Linked DNA regions of Homo sapiens: all the other regions are linked to region 6. Evidence: promoter capture Hi-C in human tissues and cell types (Jung and others, 2019). All regions are on one chromosome and are shown on one strand. Each heading gives the region's core, a stretch centred on a gene start or on the middle of the fragment in contact. The rest is flanking DNA. Distances are from core to core; before and after follow the strand shown.

Region 1 (2,700 bases), core at 181-2,680, 480 kb before region 6:
AGCCCGAAACAGCAGGGTGGTAACTTCTAAGCCCGTGGGCTGAGCAGCGGCTTGTGTGGGATGTAGACCCTTTGACTCACAACCACCCACACAAAGGCCTCAATTATTTTCAAAACCTGATATCCATCTGAGCATTATTGCAACAAAGTGGGTCAGCTCTAAAAGGAGGAGAAGTGGGAGTAGGGGCTCAAGTCTTCTATTATCAGATTGGCCTGTGCTGGGTGTCGGGGGAAGGTGCTGGTTTGGAGTGTGGGGGCCTGGTGTTTATTTGCATCCCGCTGTGAAAAGCCATCCCCTGAATTCAACATCAAATAAGATAATCTTGGCACCATCCAGCATAGCATTGCTGCCTGGCACCATGCAACACCCAAGAGTGCGATGCCCCAAATCTCTGTTCCAGGATGAACCTGCTCAGGTGTGATACAGAGTTGGAAGAGGGGCTGAAAAGCAAGGGACAGGAGGGCATGTGAATTCAGGCTGCCTCAGCTAGAGCCTAGCGTGGGGCAAGTGAACCACGGTGGGGGGAGAGGAAGGAGAGCAGCATGCTCCCCTGGCCAGCGCTGCCTCACCTGCCATGCAATCAGGTCCTTGAGGTGGGTCAGCTTGTCCTGGTCCTCAGGGTGGTCCCTGACATACTCTTCAGTGAAGAAGGCCTGGGGAGGACAGATAGGAGGTCAGGGTTTCCTGTTCATGTGGCATTTCACAGCCAATCTCTTTGGCACTGGGAGAAGATTCAATTTGAAAGGGGCAAGGATGAGGTCACAGGCATGTGGATGGAACAAGAGTAACAGGTCTGGAGAGACTGACATTGTTTTATCTGCTTTGAGGCTCAGATCAGCACCCAGTGGGAATGGGCTGCAAACTCTGGGGAAGCTGTTCTCAAAGTCAGGTTCCTGAGCCAGTAGCAGCAACAGTACTTTGGAACTTGTTAGAGATGCAAAGTCTCTAGCCCCAGCCCAGACAGCCTGAATCAGAAACTCTGGGGGTGGGGTGAGGACCCGTGTGTCAGGAAGCACTGTAGGGGATTCTGATGCTCCTTTCAAGTTTGAGAACATTGCTCTGTGGAAAATAATTCAGTAAGGAATCTCACTGGTGGGTGTTCCAGCTCACCTCATGGCCTCCCTCATTGCAAGTGACCCTGGCAGCCCCTTTCTGGGGCTCATGTCCTTAGTGTGTGCTCATGTATAAACAGACATATCCCATCACTGCTCAAGGCTGAGCAAAGGGTTACCAATGATGACTGCATGGGTATCTGAGGGTAGTTGGAAGGATTGATTAGGTGACTGGAATTATTGTCCCCAAATTATACTACTGTGTGGTATTCTTAGTTTTACATCAATGGATAACATAGGAAAGATAATAGGGAATTCATCAAAAGATTTGTTAGAATGAGGAGTTCATTTTTCCTTCAGTGTCTGCTAGGTGAAAACCAAGTAAGAACTTTCTACTCTATTTCAATGCCAAGAACAGCTACGTATCCTTACTGAGAAATGGGTATTTTTCCTTCCAGTGGATAATGTAACTCATATAAGTGATGCTATTTCCTTTTTTGCCGTGAACACCAGGAAGCTCAAAAATAAATCTGTGGCTCAAACATGTGGGGCTTTCTGGAGGGACCTTATGACCTTGATATCTAGATTATAGCTCCCCTTTTGGAGTTGATCTCTTAGTTTTTATGGCTTTTCACAGATTCTGAGTTTCATTTCTTTCCATTAGTATACATCATTTCACATCCTCTGTGGAAGAGGTGGGTTTATACAACTGGCACGTACTTTTATGGTCTGGCTCACACTCATCCCAGAGCCTTTCCTTAATAGAGCCACCTGAATCTGCCCAGTGAGATAAGGGGACCTTATGACCCCTGCCCCTTCCTGCCCCTCCCTGCCCCAGCACAGGGTATGGAAAAGAGGCTGGGAGGAAGACAGGAGCTCAGCTAAGACATGAGGCTATAGAAACATGAGGGCCAACCAAGCTGAGGGTCCCTCTGGGGACAAGGACAGTCAAAGTAGGATAAGTGACATGTACCTGCATCTGCCCCCTGGGTCCTCCCACCACTGCTCTGCTCACCGAGCTCCCCTAGACTTGGAGAACAGAAATCCTCACCTTCTCATACTTGGCGAAGCCTCCCATGACAGCAGGGTCCACAATCCCGTTCAGGAGCATGGAGAGTGGGTTGATGGGGAGGGTCTCATCACTCTGGTACTGGTTTATCATCATCAGGATCTTCTCATTGGCCGTGGACATGGTTTCTATGGCATTCTCCAGAGGACTAATTGTGGTCTGTTGAAAATGAGATCACCAAGAAGAAAGGGCCTTAGTTAAGTCACTTTAAAAACAGATATTATTGGTATTGATTTCACTTGGGGTGGGAATTCAAATGAGGCAATGCTCCCTAAGGGGCTGTAACAGGATCTTGTAATTACTGAGCTCTGGGGGCTGTCTGCTCTCTGGGGAGAGACAGGCTGGCTTTCTGCTTAGTGAGAAAGGGATTTCTTTGGGGAGGCAGAAGCAGGAAGTGTCAGGTACCTGCTGAGTGTGCCCCAGAGAAGGTTTTCTCTTCTTATTATCTGGGTGAAACACATGCCAATTCAACCCTTTCAGTATTGGTTGGGCAGATACTATGTGTGAGTTATTGGCCAGAGAGATTAGAGCAGCTTGCGATGTGGGCACCCAGCCTGGCACATAGTAGGTCCTAAGACT
Region 2 (2,741 bases), core at 221-2,720, 400 kb before region 6:
ATAATATACAAAATGCAAAAATAGTGAGAACATTTCATGTGTTCTATAAACATAAGAGATCATTTTGGCCAGAAGATGCAGGAAATCTTCGAACTAAGCTATGTGCCTGCAAGCAGAAAAAAGCAATCTTTTCTGGTTGACATTAACACATGCTTCTTTAGTCTAAAGCTAAGTTTGTTGTCATCACCTAGTGATGGCAACGCTATTATTATTGATATTTTCCTTGATCCTGGCACTGTGCTAAGGAGTAACTCATTCTATCCTCGTACACACAAAGCAATTTTCATGAAATAGAAACTACCATTATCCCCATTTTACAGACTAGGAAACTAACACTCCAAGAGGTTAAATGACTTCCCAAGAAAGAGAAAGTGGCAGAATTAAAGAGTCTGAAGCCCAGGCTGTGTTCTAGAGTCTAACTTTTTTCTTTAATGTACAAAACATAAGTACTTGGCTGACCCTTAAGAGATACAAATCTATGATTTCTATTTAGGAGAGATTTCCAATGTATTAGGTCCGTTAGGAAATTACATTCTAATTTTCTAGGTATAAAGAAATAAGGATTACTGTATCATTTCTGGGGGCCTCTCCCAAAAATGACTAAAGTTTGAATGAAGCTGGGATTTCAGGAGGAAATATTCCTTCAAAGCACTCCCATGGGACCCAGCACATGTTTCTTCCAGAAGGACCGTGTGGACAGCTCAGAAGGGGAAGTTGCCTGGCCAGGGCTCCAACCCCAAGACCCTGGATCAAGGCTGGACATCTGTGCATTCACCTGCCCATTATTTAGTCCTCTTTCTGGTAACAACTTCTAGATTTTCCTTTGAAGAACTACTCTCTCTGCTTCTTTCCTTATTCCCTGACTTTGTGGTTTTGGTAGAACTGACCCAGTTCCAAAGGCGGGTCATGAAATCCAAGCCTGACTTAATAGCACATTTCATTTGGCTGGCCGCAGAGGTCCATGGATGGGCATGTAGCTCAGGCCAGACCTTTGAAGAGTGGCCTCAGGATTTTTTCTGTACCTATAGGAAAAGAAGCCTTTTCATTCTATTGTGGTTGAAAATACAACAAGGAATATATCTGCAACTTCTAGAGCCCATTTTCCCCACTAAGAGAGCATCTGCCTGAGAATCAAGTAAATAGAAAAAGCAGAGAGAGACACACACACAGATTCCCTACATTGCTATTTGAGCACCTAGATACATCCATGCCTGAAGCCACACCTCAGGGCTCTTTCAGTTATCTGTGCCAATACATTCTCTTTTTGCTTGGGCAAGTTTGAGTTAGTGTTTGCTCTTTCCCTTCCACTTCAGAGAATTCTGATTTTGTCTTTTTAACTTCTCCCCTTATTCTGCCCTCTAGGGATATTTCTATCTTTGCCAGACAATGCTTGGTTTTTTGATATAAAACAAGAACAATAGGTAGAGGGAGATAAAACTAGACACCAGTATAAGTTGAAGGGCTTTCCATGAAAGAATTTAAAACAAATAAAATAAGCCAAAGGAAAGCAGGGAGAAAGAAAAGAGAAGAACCAAAAAGATGCTGTTTTAAAGGAACTGATCGGCAGGATTTGAGAATCAGGTTCTGAGAGAGGCTTGGGGAAATCCAAGGAATATTAGAAATAAACCCAAGGGAATATTAGAAAAGATTAATGAATGTTATAATTTGGATTTTACTTTGGTGAAATGATATAAGAAACCTAGGAGCAGAGACTGAAATTGTTTAGAATTACTTTTATCTCTTGTTGTGTTGGGCCATAGGACATCTAAGCTATACTTGGGTTACACTGATAGTGTAGGAGATGTTAACGGGTATTATAGATACACACATAGACACACCAAATGCACATCCTATGTGCAAATGGATGGGCAAATGGAATGCTGTACCCTAAATCCTCCTCTTAGAAAAAAATCACATTAGCAAATTAAAAGCTTGAAGAAGTCCTGCAGCATGGAAATCTGTTCAAATCTGTTTAATTTAATGCTTCCTAAACTTATTTTACCATGTCACAGAATATATTTTATTACTTTTTAAAAATTAAAATAATATATTTTTAAAATGCTTTTCTAAGATCTCCTGTCCCAAGAGTGAACGAAAGGCTTCAGAGATGAAGTATGATATTCTAACTGGGATTTGAAAAATGGAGAAGTTGGAGACGATTTTTTGAGTAGCTTCGATTGGTGAGGAGTCCTTCCCTGGGTTTAAAGATAGAAAGAAAGCATGCCTTAACACTTTAATTTCTTTTCAGCAAGGAGAAATTGTCCCTAATTTAACCCAAAATAAGTGATCTTTGAAGTGAGGGCTGGGTAAGGTAGCTTTGCGGAAGCAGGTAGCAGCTCACCTGTTTTGAACCATGCTCATGGCCATCCAGTCTCCAGGGTACACGTTCTTTCCAATGAGGTCCTTGAACATGATGAAGGTCTCCATCAAGAAGTCCTGAAACAATGAAGCACAGCACACATGTCATCCTGTTTTACAGGAACTCAGAGCTTGTTGGCTCTTCAAATTTTTTTGCTATTATATTTTGGAGGGAGGAAAAGGGAAGGGACACAGCCTTTCATTAACTAAATTAAATGGAAGCTTAAAGATTGAATGCTGGAATGCTGTTTCCCAAATGTCAGTGGAACATGAATATGGGATGCGAAAATGTTCTCAAAATAAAGCACTATTAATTCCATCTTTGGGAATAAAGAAGTAAATGTACTCATTGATGTGGCAATTTTATAATCATTTTCACAAAT
Region 3 (2,918 bases), core at 226-2,725, 440 kb before region 6:
CTTGTTGCATTGAAGCCACAGAATGCTTTGTCTCCCTACTTTCCATGTTAAGAAGCATTTCACCCACTGGAGTGCATGGCTTATTCAACGCATTGTTTTGAAGTCACCCAACGTCTTTTTAACATGATTTTGTTGCAAAATGGTTTTTACTATTTTAGTATTATACCCTGAAGAGTCCATCCAAATCATGCAGTCCACCCTTCCCTCATTTTACCATTAAAAAATAAACTGGCACCTGGAGAGGGAAAGGGGAGCTTCGCAAAGGTCACCAAGACCAAAAGAGGACTTGGGGAGTCCTGACCTCTAACTTGACCTCTTTACACCCGGTCTTCATAATACTTCATGAAGTCTGGAGGTCACGGATCACCTTTAAATGTGACAATGCATGAAGAGCAGCCAGCCCTTGCTTGGTACAACCCTCGGTGTCAGTTATTATTACGGATGAAGAAGTAGAGGCTCAGGGAGTTTAAGTGACCTGTCTAAAGTCTTAGATGAATGGCAGAGACCTTTGGCAGGCTCTTTCCTGGGCATAAAGGATAGAGCTCCATGGAGTTGGAATCTTTAGGTGATGAAAAGGCAGGGACCACATTTGCTCTTCCCTCTGGTTCACACATCATCCGTGATGCCATCGTTCCCTCACTTTTGTGCACAAAGGATCTAAGGGAGGGACCAAAAGCTTGTGCTGATACAGCACAAATGCCAAAGAATTTCCGGTGAGTTGCCTCAGTTGGGGAAGACTTATTGAAGGAGATATACCGGGCCTGGAAAAATGGGTAGGACTGTGATAAATGTGAAAAGGAAGGCATTCCAGATGGGGGAAACGGTGTGAGCAAAGCTGTCGAGGTGGGAACGTGGAGAAAAATGAAGACAGCAGTTCAGCTTGAGCAGAGAAGAATGGATGGACGGACAAATGGAAGGAAGGAAGGAAAGAAGGAAGGAAGGAAGGAAGGAAGGAAGGAAGGAAGGAAGGAAGGAAGGAAGGAAGGGAGGGAAGGAGGGAGGGAGGGAGGGAGGGAACAGACACCTAGATGAGACCCAGTGTGGCAAGAGTCTAGACTGCCAGTCTGCAAATGAATCACGTCCCTTCTATGGTGCATCCTGTCAAGCATTATGTCTGTGTTGAATATTATCCAATGTCAAGGGTTGGGGACTATCATGCTTAGAGATGTCTTCTCTGCCAAGCCTAGAGCAGGAAGAAATACAGCTAAGGGGCTATACAATGAGTCTGCTGTGCGGCTGTCTGGCTTTAAATCCCTCACCGCTTCCCTCTGCCATCTTGGGAAAGCTGGTAGGTCTTTCTAATCCTCAGGGTCAGGATTTAGATCAGGGACTGGCAAACATTTCCTGTAAAGGGCCAGACAGTAAATAATTTAGGCTTTGGAGGCCAGATGGTCTCTGTGACAACTACTGAACTCTGCTGCTGTAGCACAAAACCAGCCCTAGACAACACATACACAAATTGGCATGGCTGTAGTCCAATAAAAGTTTATTTACAAAAGCAGGTGGAAGGATGGATTTGGTCTGTGGGCCAGAGTTTGTCTACCCCTTATCAATACAATGGGCATAACAGTAGTACCTACAGTGTGGAGTAGCTATAGGGCACAGAGATTTTATATGTAAAGCACTAGCAAAGTGCCTAACATTAAGTGTGTGCTGTGTCCCTCGACTTGTCATCACCACTAATGTTATTGTTATTACTGCCGAATGTTACTAGAAAGCAGCGCAGGGGGAGAAAAGTGCATTTTTTCTTGTCTGAGTGGTTCACTGGGAAATGCTGGCATGATTCTTCCTGGTGAGCTGAACTTTTCTTTGGAGCACAGAAGTGGTTGAGGTAAATAAGCACTTGTCTCAGGATCACAAAAGAGCCTGCCAGGAGGGAAATTACAGGGTTCCAGGGAGTGTGTGAGACAAATGATACCATACCACCATGCCTGAGCCCTTGGGGTGAGCTGGAGGGGTAAGGTCTCAGTCAGGCATATCCCAGGGTCAGTACTGTGCTCAGAAATGGCTATGCTCACAGTCTGTGGCATTGAATAGACTTGGTTTGAGTCTTGCTTTGACTTTTTTCCCAGCCCTGTGACCTTAGCCAAGTTAATAAACATTTCTAAGGCTTAATGTGCTCATCTATTAAATGGAGATTTGAAATAGCATCTCCTTCATAGTGGTACTGTAACAAATTAAAGGGCAAACACACGTATAAGGCACTTGGCACATAGTAAGTGCTCAATAATTGTTAGCAAAGCTCATCATGCTATTGTCATTGTCATCATCATAGGCATCATACTCTCATTTAATCTTTACAACAGCCAAGGGAGAAGAATGTCATCATCCCCATGTTACAAATGAGGAGGCTGAGGCAACGTAGGACCTTGGGTGACAGAGTGTAAGACTCTGTCTCAAAAAAAAAAAAAAAAAAAAAGGCTCTCCCAAACATACACTCCATCATGATGCTGCAACAGTCCTTACCCCCAACACTGTCACCATCCAGAGTTGAGGATGTAGCTCTGGCTTCTCCAAATTACTTCCATTTTCATCCACAGCTACATGACTGCATCACATCATTGACTCCTTACCCCACTGCTGCGAGGTGGATGTTTGCTAATGAGTATCCACAGATTTGTATTGAGCCACTACAGAAGTCAGATTCTACAGAGGCCCAATACAAATCTTGAGAAGCTCTAATCGAGAAAGGAGGAGTGGACTCCAGGAGCCCAAACCTTCTGCCTGGGCCTCCCTCTTCCAGGAGACTGGCCTGATATGGGCCTCGTGTTTGCTTCATGCCTTCCCTGCATTGCTTCTCTTGCCTCTCCTGGCTGCTTTAGAATATCTTGGCTATTTTTATCATCTTGTTCTCCTAGAATGTTTTCTGATTGGAGTCCAGCCCTGTAGAAGTATGAGATTTGGGGAGTGATTGCTCT
Region 4 (2,861 bases), core at 334-2,833, 300 kb after region 6:
TGCCCTAGTGTGTGCCCTAGTGAATGCCCTAACTCAGGTATGTCTGCATGCTGTGGAGTCCATGATCCTCTTCTAATCGGAGTTTTATGACTTGACCATAGAATTGTGCATGTTTGCATCTCTCCCTGAGCTTTAGCTACTCCTGGCTCCTGCCTTAATCCTTCTAGCTTGGCTTCTTGCCCTCTACTGCCCTCTATGTATTCTCCATAGCCTTAGTATTGAATTTGGACTGTCACCATCAGAACCCCAGGTCCTGAAATTGGATTTCATGGCCTGGACCTTCACTGGAGACTGCAGACTTGCAAGAACTCAGAGTTCTGCCCTGGAAACAACCTCAGACTTCGTCTTTATGGCCATCTGAAATCTTTTATCATGTCCAGGGTAGCATGTAAAAGTGCCCCAGGGCTGGACTCTATAAATGATGAATTACTTAGACATACTCCTGAACTCCCTGTATCCCAAATAGGACAGATCATTTTGTAATTAAAAAGCGCAGCAGTGATGATCTCATTGGAGAGCTGTCCTGTTCAATAATGTGTTGCAGAAATTTCTGGACTATCTAGTACTTTGCTGACATTCTTTCTCTCCTCTTCTTCTCTCTCCAGCTCTAGAATGTAGGTAGAAAGTGTTCTGAGTATGGGGATTCTAAGTGGAATTAGTGAGAAGCCAAGGGGGAGTACAATTTGGATGTAAGCCGAAATGAGTAGAAAGACCTAGGCTGAATCCTGGCTTCTGTCACTTTCTAACTGCCCGACCTGTCTGAGTACCTTTGCGGTCTCCATAGTCTCATCTATAACCTTTGGAATGGGAGAAATAACACTCATCTCAGGGGGCTGATGCAAGGTTTAAATGAGATCAGATGTCTCCAAATGCCTTCTAAATTTAGTGCTATGCGAATACCTTAATGAGTCCACCCACAATATCTGAATTGAACCACTAAATCCTGTATCTGGAAGACGATCAGGGTATATTTTAGAAGCTTTCATTTACAGATGAAGAAACTCAGGGAGCTCCAAAGCCTTGCTCAGAGTCACCCATGTCTTCAAACTCTTGTTCCAGTTTCCTTTTCATTTAACAAGATGCATCTTTTACAAATTAAAATATAACCTCATACCAGCCATGTCAGCAGCTTAACCAGGTGGAGTTTAGAGGACTGGGTAATTAATAAGTGACAGTGTCCAAGACAGTAGGACCAAATAAGGGAATCCATGAAGGATGGAGTCATTTAAAGGGGCCATTTATTGAGTGTCTACCACAATGAATAAAGCAAGTGAAATGTTCTGGTAACTAGAACAGTTCAAACTAACTTCAAAGTTAGTCTGGACTGTCTCTCCCTCTAAATGACTGACAAGGCAAAGGCTACCATGCTAGGTTCAGAGCAGGGAGATTTATGGGTTGGGAGAAATGCTAGAACCATGAAGGATGTAGCACCAAACCCTCAGGAATCATTGATGAAAGCAAGCCCCCTCATCCCTTTTAGTGGGTACAAATATGTAGAAAGCCTCCCACATCATAAAAAAATAGTACAAGTGGAATTAAAAAAAAACTCAAGGGGGAAATATTAATCTGAGAACAATTGTATCTGAGAAAGCATTCAAGTATGCCTCTGCAGCTAGCTGGCAAACAGCACAAGTTCTGCATTTTATTAGAGTTCTAACTCTGTGTAGAACACTGACCTTATTTGAGAAGCATTTCATAAACACTGACACACAGCACAGCAGCATTTGAGGCCATGAGGAGATACAGGGCCTTCTTTAGGGGGCCAGCTTCCCTTCCCCTCCTCGGCTGCAAGGGACCCCTAGGACATTGTTTCCCTGAGTGGTAATATCTTTATTTTTCTCTCTTAGGTTTAACTCAGCAGGAGGAATTTTCCTAGGGGAAAATGAGGGAGGGGGATTTGGAATAAAATTTGTACTTTGGGCAAGTTTGCCTAAGCATGGGGTAGGCGATGGGGAAGACCCTGCTCTGGGAGAAAGGGTCTAAGAACCTTCACTTGGCCAGTGGAGTTTCTTTTTGGAGATCTCACCTGGTGCCTGGAGACCTATGCTGTGGCTGTGTCAGAGGCAGGTTCTCAGGCAGCATTCACCAGGTCCTTTGGAATGCAAGACTTGTGGCTTGCAACCGCCCTGAGAAACGCGTCCACCACATCCCCTCCTGCTAGAAGCTGGCACCTCCCTTTCCATCTGCTGCCAGCGTACAAGTTCTGAATTTGTGCCACAGAACTTGGTTCTGTTCCTCCCCCTCTTGTTGGCTTCCCTAGCCAAGAGATTTTCAGGCTTTTGAGGTATCACTGGAGATCATCTGGTCTACTCCCTCCCCACTGATCTCAACCCATCTCCAAAGGGAAATGCATTAGAAAGGTCACCAGAGAGGACCTCAGCTTCCTGGTGTGGTCTGCCCTTATGAAAAGGTGCCTTCATTTCTGCCTCATCCTGTGCAAAGATCATGCAGAGCCATGGGAAGCCTCTGCCAATCTGGGAAGCTAGGGAGACAGAAGAGGGACCACATCTAGTACAAAAAAAAATAGGGAATCATGTGGAAGCAGAGGGGAGAGGCACCAGATGGGTGACTCGGGATGGCAGATCATATCCTGAGGGCTCTCAGCACCAAGCCTGCAGCTTATTTCGAGTCTAGAGAGGGAAGATCCCAGCTGAAGAAAACGGCAAGGGAAGGAACACTGGGAACCAGGACTGGAGCAGGAATCCAAAAATGGGAAGGCCAGTTGCTTCATGGGAGCTTTTAATGACTCTAGTTCCCTACCAACACCCCTCCCCTTCTAATTGCTTCATAGCACAAGATGGTAACCAATCTGCTCTGTTTACTCTGTTTAGGCATACATTTTAGTACTTTCTGAAACATTT
Region 5 (2,789 bases), core at 212-2,711, 380 kb before region 6:
TAGAGATGGGGTTTCACCATGTTGGCCAGGCTGGTCTTGAACTCCTAACTTCTAGTAATCTGCCCACCTCGGCCTCCCAAAGTGCTGGGATTACGGGCGTGAGCCACTGCACCCGGCCTGGCTTCTATTCTTCTTAAAAAACTTTATACTTGTCCTTCTTAGCACTTGTCACAATTTTAATTAGATATTTATTTATTCAAGACTTGTTTAGTGCTTGTCTCCTTTCCTAGGTGGAGCTCCTTGAGGCAGAGAAATGTCTGCTTAGTCCACCATGTTTTCCCAGCATCCAACACAGTGCCTGAATGTAAAAGGTGCACAGTCAATAGTTTTAAAATGAACACGTTTAAATTTCAAACATTATGCTCAGCATGCTATACTTATTCTTGCACTGTTGTTAGAGTTGATTAGCAGGCAAAGGTAATACATTCCCCTGATGCAAGGCAAGACTAGGCAATTCAATTTAATTCTGTTCAGTGTAGTTCAAGTCACTTCAATTATATTCCATTCATCTTAATTTAATTCCACAAACCTTCACAGATACCAGAACTCTGACAGCATTTATCCTAGGTGTGGAAATGTTAGAGATGATGATGATCCATTAATTGCCCTTGGGGGGCTACCCATTTATGCCCCCTCATCTATGGCCAATGACAATTGTAGGACATATGACTGATCTCCCTACATGCATGAAATTGCAAATGGGCAACAGGTTGACCTAAACAGTGTCTCACTACCATCACTCACTCATGCAATATACTGGGGTGTTTACCATGATAGTTACAGTCGTCTTTCTTAGTCCTCAGGGATATGTTCCAAGACTCCATGGATAGTGAACCTATATATACTATGAACCCTAGTATATATATTCAGTTCATAGCCTATACTGAACCCTATATATACTATGATTTTTTCCTATGCATGCATACCTGTACAGTGTGAATATACTGGACAAAGGGATGATTCACATCCTAGGCAAAGAGAGTAGGATTTCATCACATGACTCAGAACAGAACACAATTTAAAACTTATGAATTATTTATCTGTGGATTTTCCATTTAATATTTTTGGACCACAATTAACTGCAAGTAACAAACCATGGAAAGTAAAACCATGGATTGTGGGAGGAGGGGACAACAATATAGAGACCCGAATATTACCACACAAGTACAGGTGACTAATGATGGCCAAGAATATTGAGTCAAATGGCTGGCCCTCCATTATTGGTCATTTTAAGTGATAGAAATCCTCCAATCCACCTTGAAAACCTATCTTAGAACCTCATGTTTCTTTCTAATCAATAATTTTCCTTTTTATTCCATTTCATCTTGAGTATATGAGATTTGAGCCTACTCACTTCCCAAAAGATGTGAGATGAATGGCAGGCTGAAAAACAAGACATATTAATATTATCAATGGCCTGAAATGAGTTCATCTGCTACAAGAACCAGAAATAGCACCTTTCAGGCACCATAAATGAGCAGATGTAAATACCCAAGGATCTGTCTCTGAATTCTCTAACAGCTAAGAAAAACAAAGATACCCATGTACAGAGGTTTTATCTTTTGACATGGAAGGCATACACAGCTTTCTGTAGGAACTACATTATTTCCTCCTCTGGAACTATACACTGGTGGAAATTTATCATGGGTACTTATAAAAGAACTCAGAGAGGCAGGGTAGACCTTGCCTTCATCAGTTTCACAAAAGCATAAAATGCTCCTCAACCTGACCGTTCCCTCATCCACCTTCAATAAAGGCAGTTCTTTGAGGGACTGATAGCCTGAGATCCGACACTCTGCCTCTGATGATCTAGCTTTACATGGTCGAATTTAATTTAACCTATTTACTCTTATCTGGACCTCAACAGAAACCAAACAAGCTGTTTGCACCCCTTCCAAATATTGCAGGCTCAGCTCTCTGAAGTGCTTCTGTTTCCTCTTTTCCTGGCCAAACCTCTTTTCCATCCTATTGTTGTATTTCCTATTTTGCCCTCTGAGCATTCTACCTGGTTTCCACAGAACTACTTCTAGATCTCTCTAGATCTACGATGACTCTAAGGATGTGGAATAACTAGGATGGCACCTGTTAGTAAAATATCTAGTCAAGGCCAAGTAACACACAGTTGGAGACCTGAGAACTGGACGGACTCCCTAAAGTCCTTTAGTCCAACACTTACCTTTATGCATGATCCTCTGTGAAGCATTCCCAATAAAAGATTCAGTGACCTCTGCTTGCAAGATTCCAAAGAGAGAGAAATCTCTACCTAATCAGAAATTCCATCACCCTGTGGACTATTAGAATTGTTAGAAAGTTCTTCCTTATGTTGAACCATAAACTTCTTTTTGGTAACATCAAGCCATCACACCAGTTCTACTTCTGCAGAATGATCTTCTGGACTCCCCTAGAGTTGTTGGGAATAGTTTGTTCCTTTTTTTTTTTTCTTTTGAGACGGAGTCTCTCTCTGTCACCCAGGCTGGAGTGCAGTGGTGTGATCTCAGGTTCAAGCGATTCTCCTGCCTCAGCCTCCCAAGTAGCTGGGACTGCAGGCGTGCACCACCACGCCCAGCTATTTTTTTTGTATTTTTAGTACAGACAGGGTTTCACCATGTTAGCCAGGATGGTCTCAATGTCCTGACCTCATGATCCGCCCCCCTCGGCCTCCCAAAGTGCTGGGATTACAGGCATGAGCCACCATGCCCAGCCAGTTTGTGCTTTTTATACATGATTTCTACTCATCAGAATATTCTGCAATGCTACCTACATTTTCATATGTTGTTTCTGCCCAGTCC
Region 6 (2,900 bases), core at 1-2,500:
TTTTTTGAGACGGAGTCTCGCTCTGTCGCCCAGGCCAGACTGCGGACTGCAGTGGCGCAATCTCGGCTCACTGCAAGCTCCGCTTCCCGGGTTCACGCCATTCTCCTGCCTCAGCCTCCCGAGTAGCTGGGATTACAGGCGTGAGCCACCGCACCCGGCCGCTTTATACACATTCTTATTCAATCTTCTCAACAACTTCAAGAGGTTGAAGGTATTTCCCTCATTTTACACATGCAAGCTGAGGCATAGAAAGTTTTAAGTAACTTGCTTAGGGTTACCCGCAAGTTAAGACGCGAAGTGTGATGGGAACTAGAATCTACCTAGAAACCATGGTGCTGCAACCATTTTTCCTGTCCTGCTTCTCAAAAATATAGCACACACAAAGCATTTGGGACACAGGAAACTCTGGGAATCAAACTGCCTGAGTTCTTACCCCGCCTCCACTACTCACTGGCTGCATGAACTTGGACAAGTTATTTAATTTCTGGTTTAATCATCTATAAAAACAAGCACAATAACACCCACCTAATCGGTTACTGAAAGGATTAAATGAGATAACGAATGAAAAGCAATTAGGGTAGAATCTGACACACGGCTGGGGCAGTGCTGTCCAGCAGAAATATAACGCGAGTCATGTACGTGATTTTAAATGTTCTAGGAGCCATCATGATTTAAAAAGTAAACAAAGATGAAAAATTAATTTACATATTTAAACAAATACACTCAAAACATCATTTCAACATGTAATCATTATAAAAATTATTAATGAGATATTACTCCTTATGCGCTATCTCTGAAACCCAATATGTATCTCCCATCTGCACCATTTCTTAGTTCGGGCTAGAGGCTACCGTACCGCACAGCGCAGATCCAGTGGCGGTTATAATTTTGAGGACCCGGCAACCGACCCAACGTTCCATATTTGTCCAGAATCCCTGAGGGCGGCGAGGTGGTCCAGCGGAAGATAAGACCGGCTCGGAACCCAGTGTATAAGACCCCAGGGTTCCGGGGAAGGAGATGTTTCAGCTAAAGGCCTCGGCCGAGACCCCGGCCCCTAGCTTTCTTTAGGGCCTGTTCGACTCTCCCCACTGCCGCTCTCCACACCCACCTCCCACCAGGCCCCTTGCCCCTACCTCTCACGCTAGTCCCCTGCTGCCGCAGCCAGCGGCTCCTAATGGGAGCTCAGGGCGTCCACATTGAGGACGCTAACTCCACAGTCGCCGGCCCATTCGCTCAGCTAGCTCTCGAGTAAGCGCCTGGGATATTTGAATGCAGTTCCCGCGAGAAGTCCCACGTCTCACGAGACGTCCGCCCAAGCCGCGCGGAAAGGAAAAACCAAGAGAAACGCCCAATGGAGCGCCCACCCCCTCCTACAGCTACTGCGCATGTGCAAGTGGCGCGCCGTGGGCTTGGCGCAGGCGCAGGCGCAGACGTGGCTCCACATAAATTTTTCCTTGGGCTGGTTTCCTGCATGTCTTTTAAGTATTTGCTTTTAGTTTCCGTGTTTTGGTGTTTTGTTTGTTCGTTTTTTTTTTTTTTTTGTTTTTACGACAATGCCTTCTAGGGGAACAGTGTCGCTGGGCTGGGCGGTGGAGAGACACCTTTGGCACCATCGTGCGATCTCATGCACCCTACCAGTGGTAATACTGGCGTTAATATTTAAGTTCCCACCATGTGTTAAAGTTTACAGATTATCTCAGTTAAGCCCGCAGCCTTATGAGGCAGATATTACTCCTCGTTTTCTACAGAGAAAAAGCCCGAAGAAAAAAAGTGCCTTGTCCAAGTGGTAGAACTAGAATTGAATGCAGTCTTAGAGTCCAAGCTGTTTGCATGTGTTTTTAATAATAATATTTTGTAACCCTGATGCCTATTCAAAAATTGAAGCGATCAGAAATAATAATAGATAACATTTAATGAGCACTGATGAGTCCTAGTAACTGTTACATGAATCATGTCGTTCTTTCGAGCCCATCTTTTCTTGCCTATTTGAGAACTTGGCTCTAACTGCTCTTTTTTGCATCTTCAGTTTTTTCTTCTCTATTGGATCTTCCCTATCAGTTCATAAACATGCTGCAGTGATTGCCATAAAATCATTTCATGATTTCATTTTTTAAAAAATCCTCCTTGACACCAATCGGCAACCACCCCATTTGTTTTCTTCTCTTTATAACAAAATTTCTGGGGAAAAAAAATCTTTACATCCATTATCTCCATTTTCTTACCTTTTGTTCTTTTGTTTGTTTTTCCCACTTTAACCAGGATTTGGTCCCAACCAATACTATGAAGTGGCTCTTGTTAGGTTTACCAGTGATTCCTACCTTGCAAAATTCGGTAGTCAATATTTAGTCCTCACTTCTGGTGAAATTTGACAGAGTTGCTTGCTCTCATTGATTTGAGTCTTTATGTCTTGGGATGCCACACTCTCCTTGCCCTCTTCTTCTCAGTTTCTTTTGCAGACTACAATTTCTGCCTGAGCTAAGCCAGACTCAAAGGGTTGATCTGAGCTTTAAGATTGGCAACAAATTGCTCACAGTGTTGTCTCACAGATTTATCTGGGACTCCAATGAACCAGATGCTCATTCATTTGTAATCACACCTATGTTCTTGGAGAAATGAAACAAATACCATTTTCCCTATCACTGAACAAAGATTCCTTAACTCAGGGGCCAGGAAAAGATTGTTCTAGCTTAGGCCAATCATGACTGGCTGCAATTAGGTAATCTAAAATCGATCTGAACTTATTTTTTCTCCTTTGTTACAAGAGAAGGTATACCCTATGTTATTAATGTTTCTTCCTATTCTATTTTAAAAATATGTATTTTAAACTATTAATTGAGTGACTGCAATGTGTTAGGCATAGTGGAGGAATTCAGAGATGTGGTAAACTCGACTATTGCCTA
Region 7 (2,820 bases), core at 169-2,668, 390 kb after region 6:
TTAATTAGGTCTTCATGCAGAGACACTAGTTACCCAAGAACACTTTTAACTGGTTTTCCTGCTTCCGATTTCAACCTCCTCCAAACTGGGCTTACTGCTACTCAGGAGACATGTGTATATGTATGTATGTGTGTGTGTGTGTGTGTGTATTTATATATATATATATAAATATACACACATATGTGTGTGTGTGTGTGTGTGTGTATAGTTTGTTTGTTTGTTTTTTGAGTTGGAGTCTTGCTCTGTTGCCCAGGCTGGCTTGCAGTGGTGTGATCTCAGCTCACCACAACCTCTGCCTCCTGGGTTCAAGTGATTCTCCTGCCTAAGCCTCCCGAGTAGCGGGGATTACAGATGTGCATCCCCATGCCAAGCTAATTTTTATATTTTTAGTAGAGACGGGGTTTCACCATGTTGGCCAGGCTGGTCTCGAGCTCCTGACCTCGTGATCTGCCCACCTTGGCCTCCCAAAGTGCTGGGATTACAGGCATGAGCCACCACGCCCGGCCAGGAGAACTTTTTAAAATTCAAACCAGATTATCACTCCCTTGCTCAAACCCTTTCTCTGGCTCCCTCTTACTATCTGTAAAAAGCCAAACCCAAATTCTTTATTATGGATAAAAAGGCCCTTTGTGGTATGACTGCTGCCTAGTTGTACACCTTCATCACTTGTGTTCGCAGGTCACCTCTGTGTTCTAGCAGTGCAAGCCTGCTTCCCAAATGCTCCTGTCTCCTGGCCCTCCATGGAGTACAGAGCACATACTGCTCTCTCAGTCTAGAAGTCTCCACCTCTGTCTCCTAAAGAGTTCTAGTCATCCTTTAAAACTAAACTCAAAACCATCTTCCTTGGGAAGCCTTCTTTTAACAAGGACTGGGTTAGCTGCTGCTCCATTGTGTTCCCACGACACCTTCGCTTTCAAGAACATGGCAATTTTTTGTTTTCAGGTCTGTCTTCTTCACTAGCATATGACATTTTTAAAAGAAGGGGCTGTATCTTATTCATTTTTGTATGTTCATATTGAAAAACTGGAGAAATGAAAGAATGGATGGATGGGTAAATGGTGGTTGGACGGATGAGTGAATGCTTGGGTAGATGGGTTGGTTGATGCATAGATGGATGGTGGTTGGATGTACAGATAAATGAACAGTTGGATGGATGAATGGTTGAATGGATACATGGATGGGTTCGATGAAGTGGCAAAAACTTCTATTTATATCTTACACCCAGGTACATCTAGAAAGGCCTTTAGTGGTTCCACAAAGACAAGGGCCTATTTCTTAGTGCTTCTCAATTCAGGCTGAAAAGCAGTATGGCTTTGCAACTCAGCAGCCAGTTGGTTTTTTTTTTACCTTTATGCTCCCCATTGTTGCATCAGGAAAGCTGAGGAGTTTTGATCTTAGTGGGAGAGGGAATACCTAGGAAGGCCTTATCCTGTCATTGCCCTGGCCCACATCTCATTTGCTGACTTCCTCAGTTCTGTCCTCATATGAGTTCCATTCAGTCCTGTTCTCCATTCAGTAATCATGGATTTACTTCCAGCTTGAACTATGGCAGGAGATCTCCACCTCTGGACCCAGAGTAACAGAACAGCAGATGGCATGAGTGTACCATGGCCAATAGCCACTGTCTGCACCCGGCACTTACCTGTTTATCAGGAGAACAGCATGTCTCATTCTGTTCATTTTCCTGTTGAGGGGCTGCTTTCACAGAAGCCACATGGGAAGTGTACCTTATGCAGCTTGGAGCCTTCATCATCTTTTCAAGGAAGACTTTCCAGGCCCATATTTACTCAGTAAATATGAGTAAATCCTGGAGTTACCTGGAAATACAGTATCTAGCTCCTTCTGATATTGAGAACCAGCAGGCGACCTGCTCGAGCTTAAGTGGAAAGGTCCCAAGGCTTTTGGGAGCAGAGCCCCACCCATCTGTCCCAGAATCCTCATTCAGGGTTTATGAAGCAGTGGGCAGCACACAATTGGCTAAATTTAGTTATATTTTTATTTTTGTCCAGCCACAAATACCGGCAAAAAACTGAAAATGATTCCTTCCCTTCCAGGAGCCTTGGAGCCAAGCTGGTTTTATTTTTAGCTTCAACTCTGGTTTAGGGTTTTCAGCAAACCGAACACCCTACTCACTGAAGACAGCAGCAAGCTGGGTTTTAGGATTTTTGCCTGGAATGGAGTGTTGGTTCTCTGAATATAACTCTTAAAAGACTTTGTACAGTTGTGACAATAGAGGGTGGTTCCAGACAGACCCACATAGAGACTCAGTTCTTGCCTTAGGGACCTCCAAGAGAGTTCCTTTCCAGGGAAGGCAATGTACACAGGGTGGTTCATTGCCTTGGATGGGTTGGAGGAAGTGGCAACTCTGGATGAAAAGAAACAGAAAAATTAAGAAAGGGAAAGGGAGAGGGAGCTGTTGTTTATTGAAAGGCTTTGAGTAGCATGGTGGTTCAGAACTAGAGCTCTGGAGTCTGACCGACTGGGTGCAAATCCTGCCACTACCACTTCCTGACATTGTGGCCTTGGGGATGGCTTGACCTCCCCAGGCTTCAGGTTCATTCTGTATGAGACAGGATTAATAATGACACCTACCATGAGCACTGCTGCAGTTATGATCCTGCCTGTGTAGCACGTGGCATGGCGTTTGACATGCATGTAGAACTCAATCCATACCATTATCATCACTGTTGTCATGCTCTTATTGCAGTGCTGAACGCTTGCGTAGACACTGTGTCATTTAAGACTCACTGTAACCCATTTTGCAGATCTGAAACTGAGGTCCAAAGGGCTAGATAGCTTGCTTCAGATCCCACAGCAAGA

Evidence for each region. Contacts are between HindIII fragments. The study calls those that stand out against the background at their distance.
Region 1: a fragment that was not itself captured here is called in contact with the fragment with the promoter of SPDL1 in region 6 in 1 of the 25 tissues and cell types used here (mesenchymal stem cells).
Region 2: a contact is called between a fragment that was not itself captured here and the fragment with the promoter of SPDL1 in region 6, in 1 of the 25 tissues and cell types used here (mesenchymal stem cells).
Region 3: a fragment that was not itself captured here is called in contact with the fragment with the promoter of SPDL1 in region 6 in 1 of the 25 tissues and cell types used here (lymphoblastoid cells).
Region 4: a contact is called between a fragment that was not itself captured here and the fragment with the promoter of SPDL1 in region 6, in 4 of the 25 tissues and cell types used here (H1 embryonic stem cells, bladder, mesenchymal stem cells and 1 more).
Region 5: a fragment that was not itself captured here is called in contact with the fragment with the promoter of SPDL1 in region 6 in 1 of the 25 tissues and cell types used here (IMR-90 fibroblasts).
Region 7: a fragment that was not itself captured here is called in contact with the fragment with the promoter of SPDL1 in region 6 in 1 of the 25 tissues and cell types used here (mesendoderm cells).

Annotation. Positions count from the first base shown.
Region 1 is chr5:170,067,090-170,069,789 of GRCh38, reverse strand. It overlaps DOCK2 (dedicator of cytokinesis 2), which reads right to left. Exons shown (of 52, transcript NM_004946.3): 45 at 2,104-2,280; 46 at 570-653. Among named protein-coding and RNA genes, the nearest start is that of FOXI1, 37 kb to the left of the region's middle. The HindIII fragment of the contact is 5,135 bases long and covers 1-2,700 here.
Region 2 is chr5:169,985,523-169,988,263 of GRCh38, reverse strand. DOCK2 (dedicator of cytokinesis 2) reads right to left here. Exons shown (of 52, transcript NM_004946.3): 29 at 2,342-2,436. Among named protein-coding and RNA genes, the nearest start is that of INSYN2B, 6.4 kb to the right of the region's middle. The HindIII fragment of the contact is 6,880 bases long and covers 1-2,741 here.
Region 3 is chr5:170,023,859-170,026,776 of GRCh38, reverse strand. The region is part of intron 33 of DOCK2 (dedicator of cytokinesis 2); the gene reads right to left. Among named protein-coding and RNA genes, the nearest start is that of MIR378E, 3.2 kb to the left of the region's middle. The HindIII fragment of the contact is 3,278 bases long and covers 1-2,918 here.
Region 4 is chr5:169,287,041-169,289,901 of GRCh38, reverse strand. The region is part of intron 1 of SLIT3 (slit guidance ligand 3); the gene reads left to right. Among named protein-coding and RNA genes, the nearest start is that of SLIT3, 13 kb to the left of the region's middle. The HindIII fragment of the contact is 5,750 bases long and covers 1-2,861 here.
Region 5 is chr5:169,959,025-169,961,813 of GRCh38, reverse strand. The region is part of intron 27 of DOCK2 (dedicator of cytokinesis 2); the gene reads right to left. The region is part of intron 1 of INSYN2B (inhibitory synaptic factor family member 2B); the gene reads left to right. Among named protein-coding and RNA genes, the nearest start is that of INSYN2B, 20 kb to the left of the region's middle. The HindIII fragment of the contact is 5,702 bases long and covers 1-2,789 here.
Region 6 is chr5:169,582,123-169,585,022 of GRCh38, reverse strand. It overlaps SPDL1 (spindle apparatus coiled-coil protein 1), which reads right to left and starts at 1,250. Exons shown (of 12, transcript NM_017785.5): 1 at 1,134-1,250. It overlaps LOC105377714 (a long non-coding RNA gene), which reads left to right and starts at 1,362. Exons shown (of 3, transcript XR_941200.3): 1 at 1,362-1,640. RefSeq lists an enhancer at 623-1,623. The HindIII fragment of the contact is 9,913 bases long and covers 1-2,900 here.
Region 7 is chr5:169,196,338-169,199,157 of GRCh38, reverse strand. All of the region lies in intron 3 of SLIT3 (slit guidance ligand 3), which reads left to right. Among named protein-coding and RNA genes, the nearest start is that of MIR585, 66 kb to the left of the region's middle. The HindIII fragment of the contact is 6,366 bases long and covers 1-2,820 here.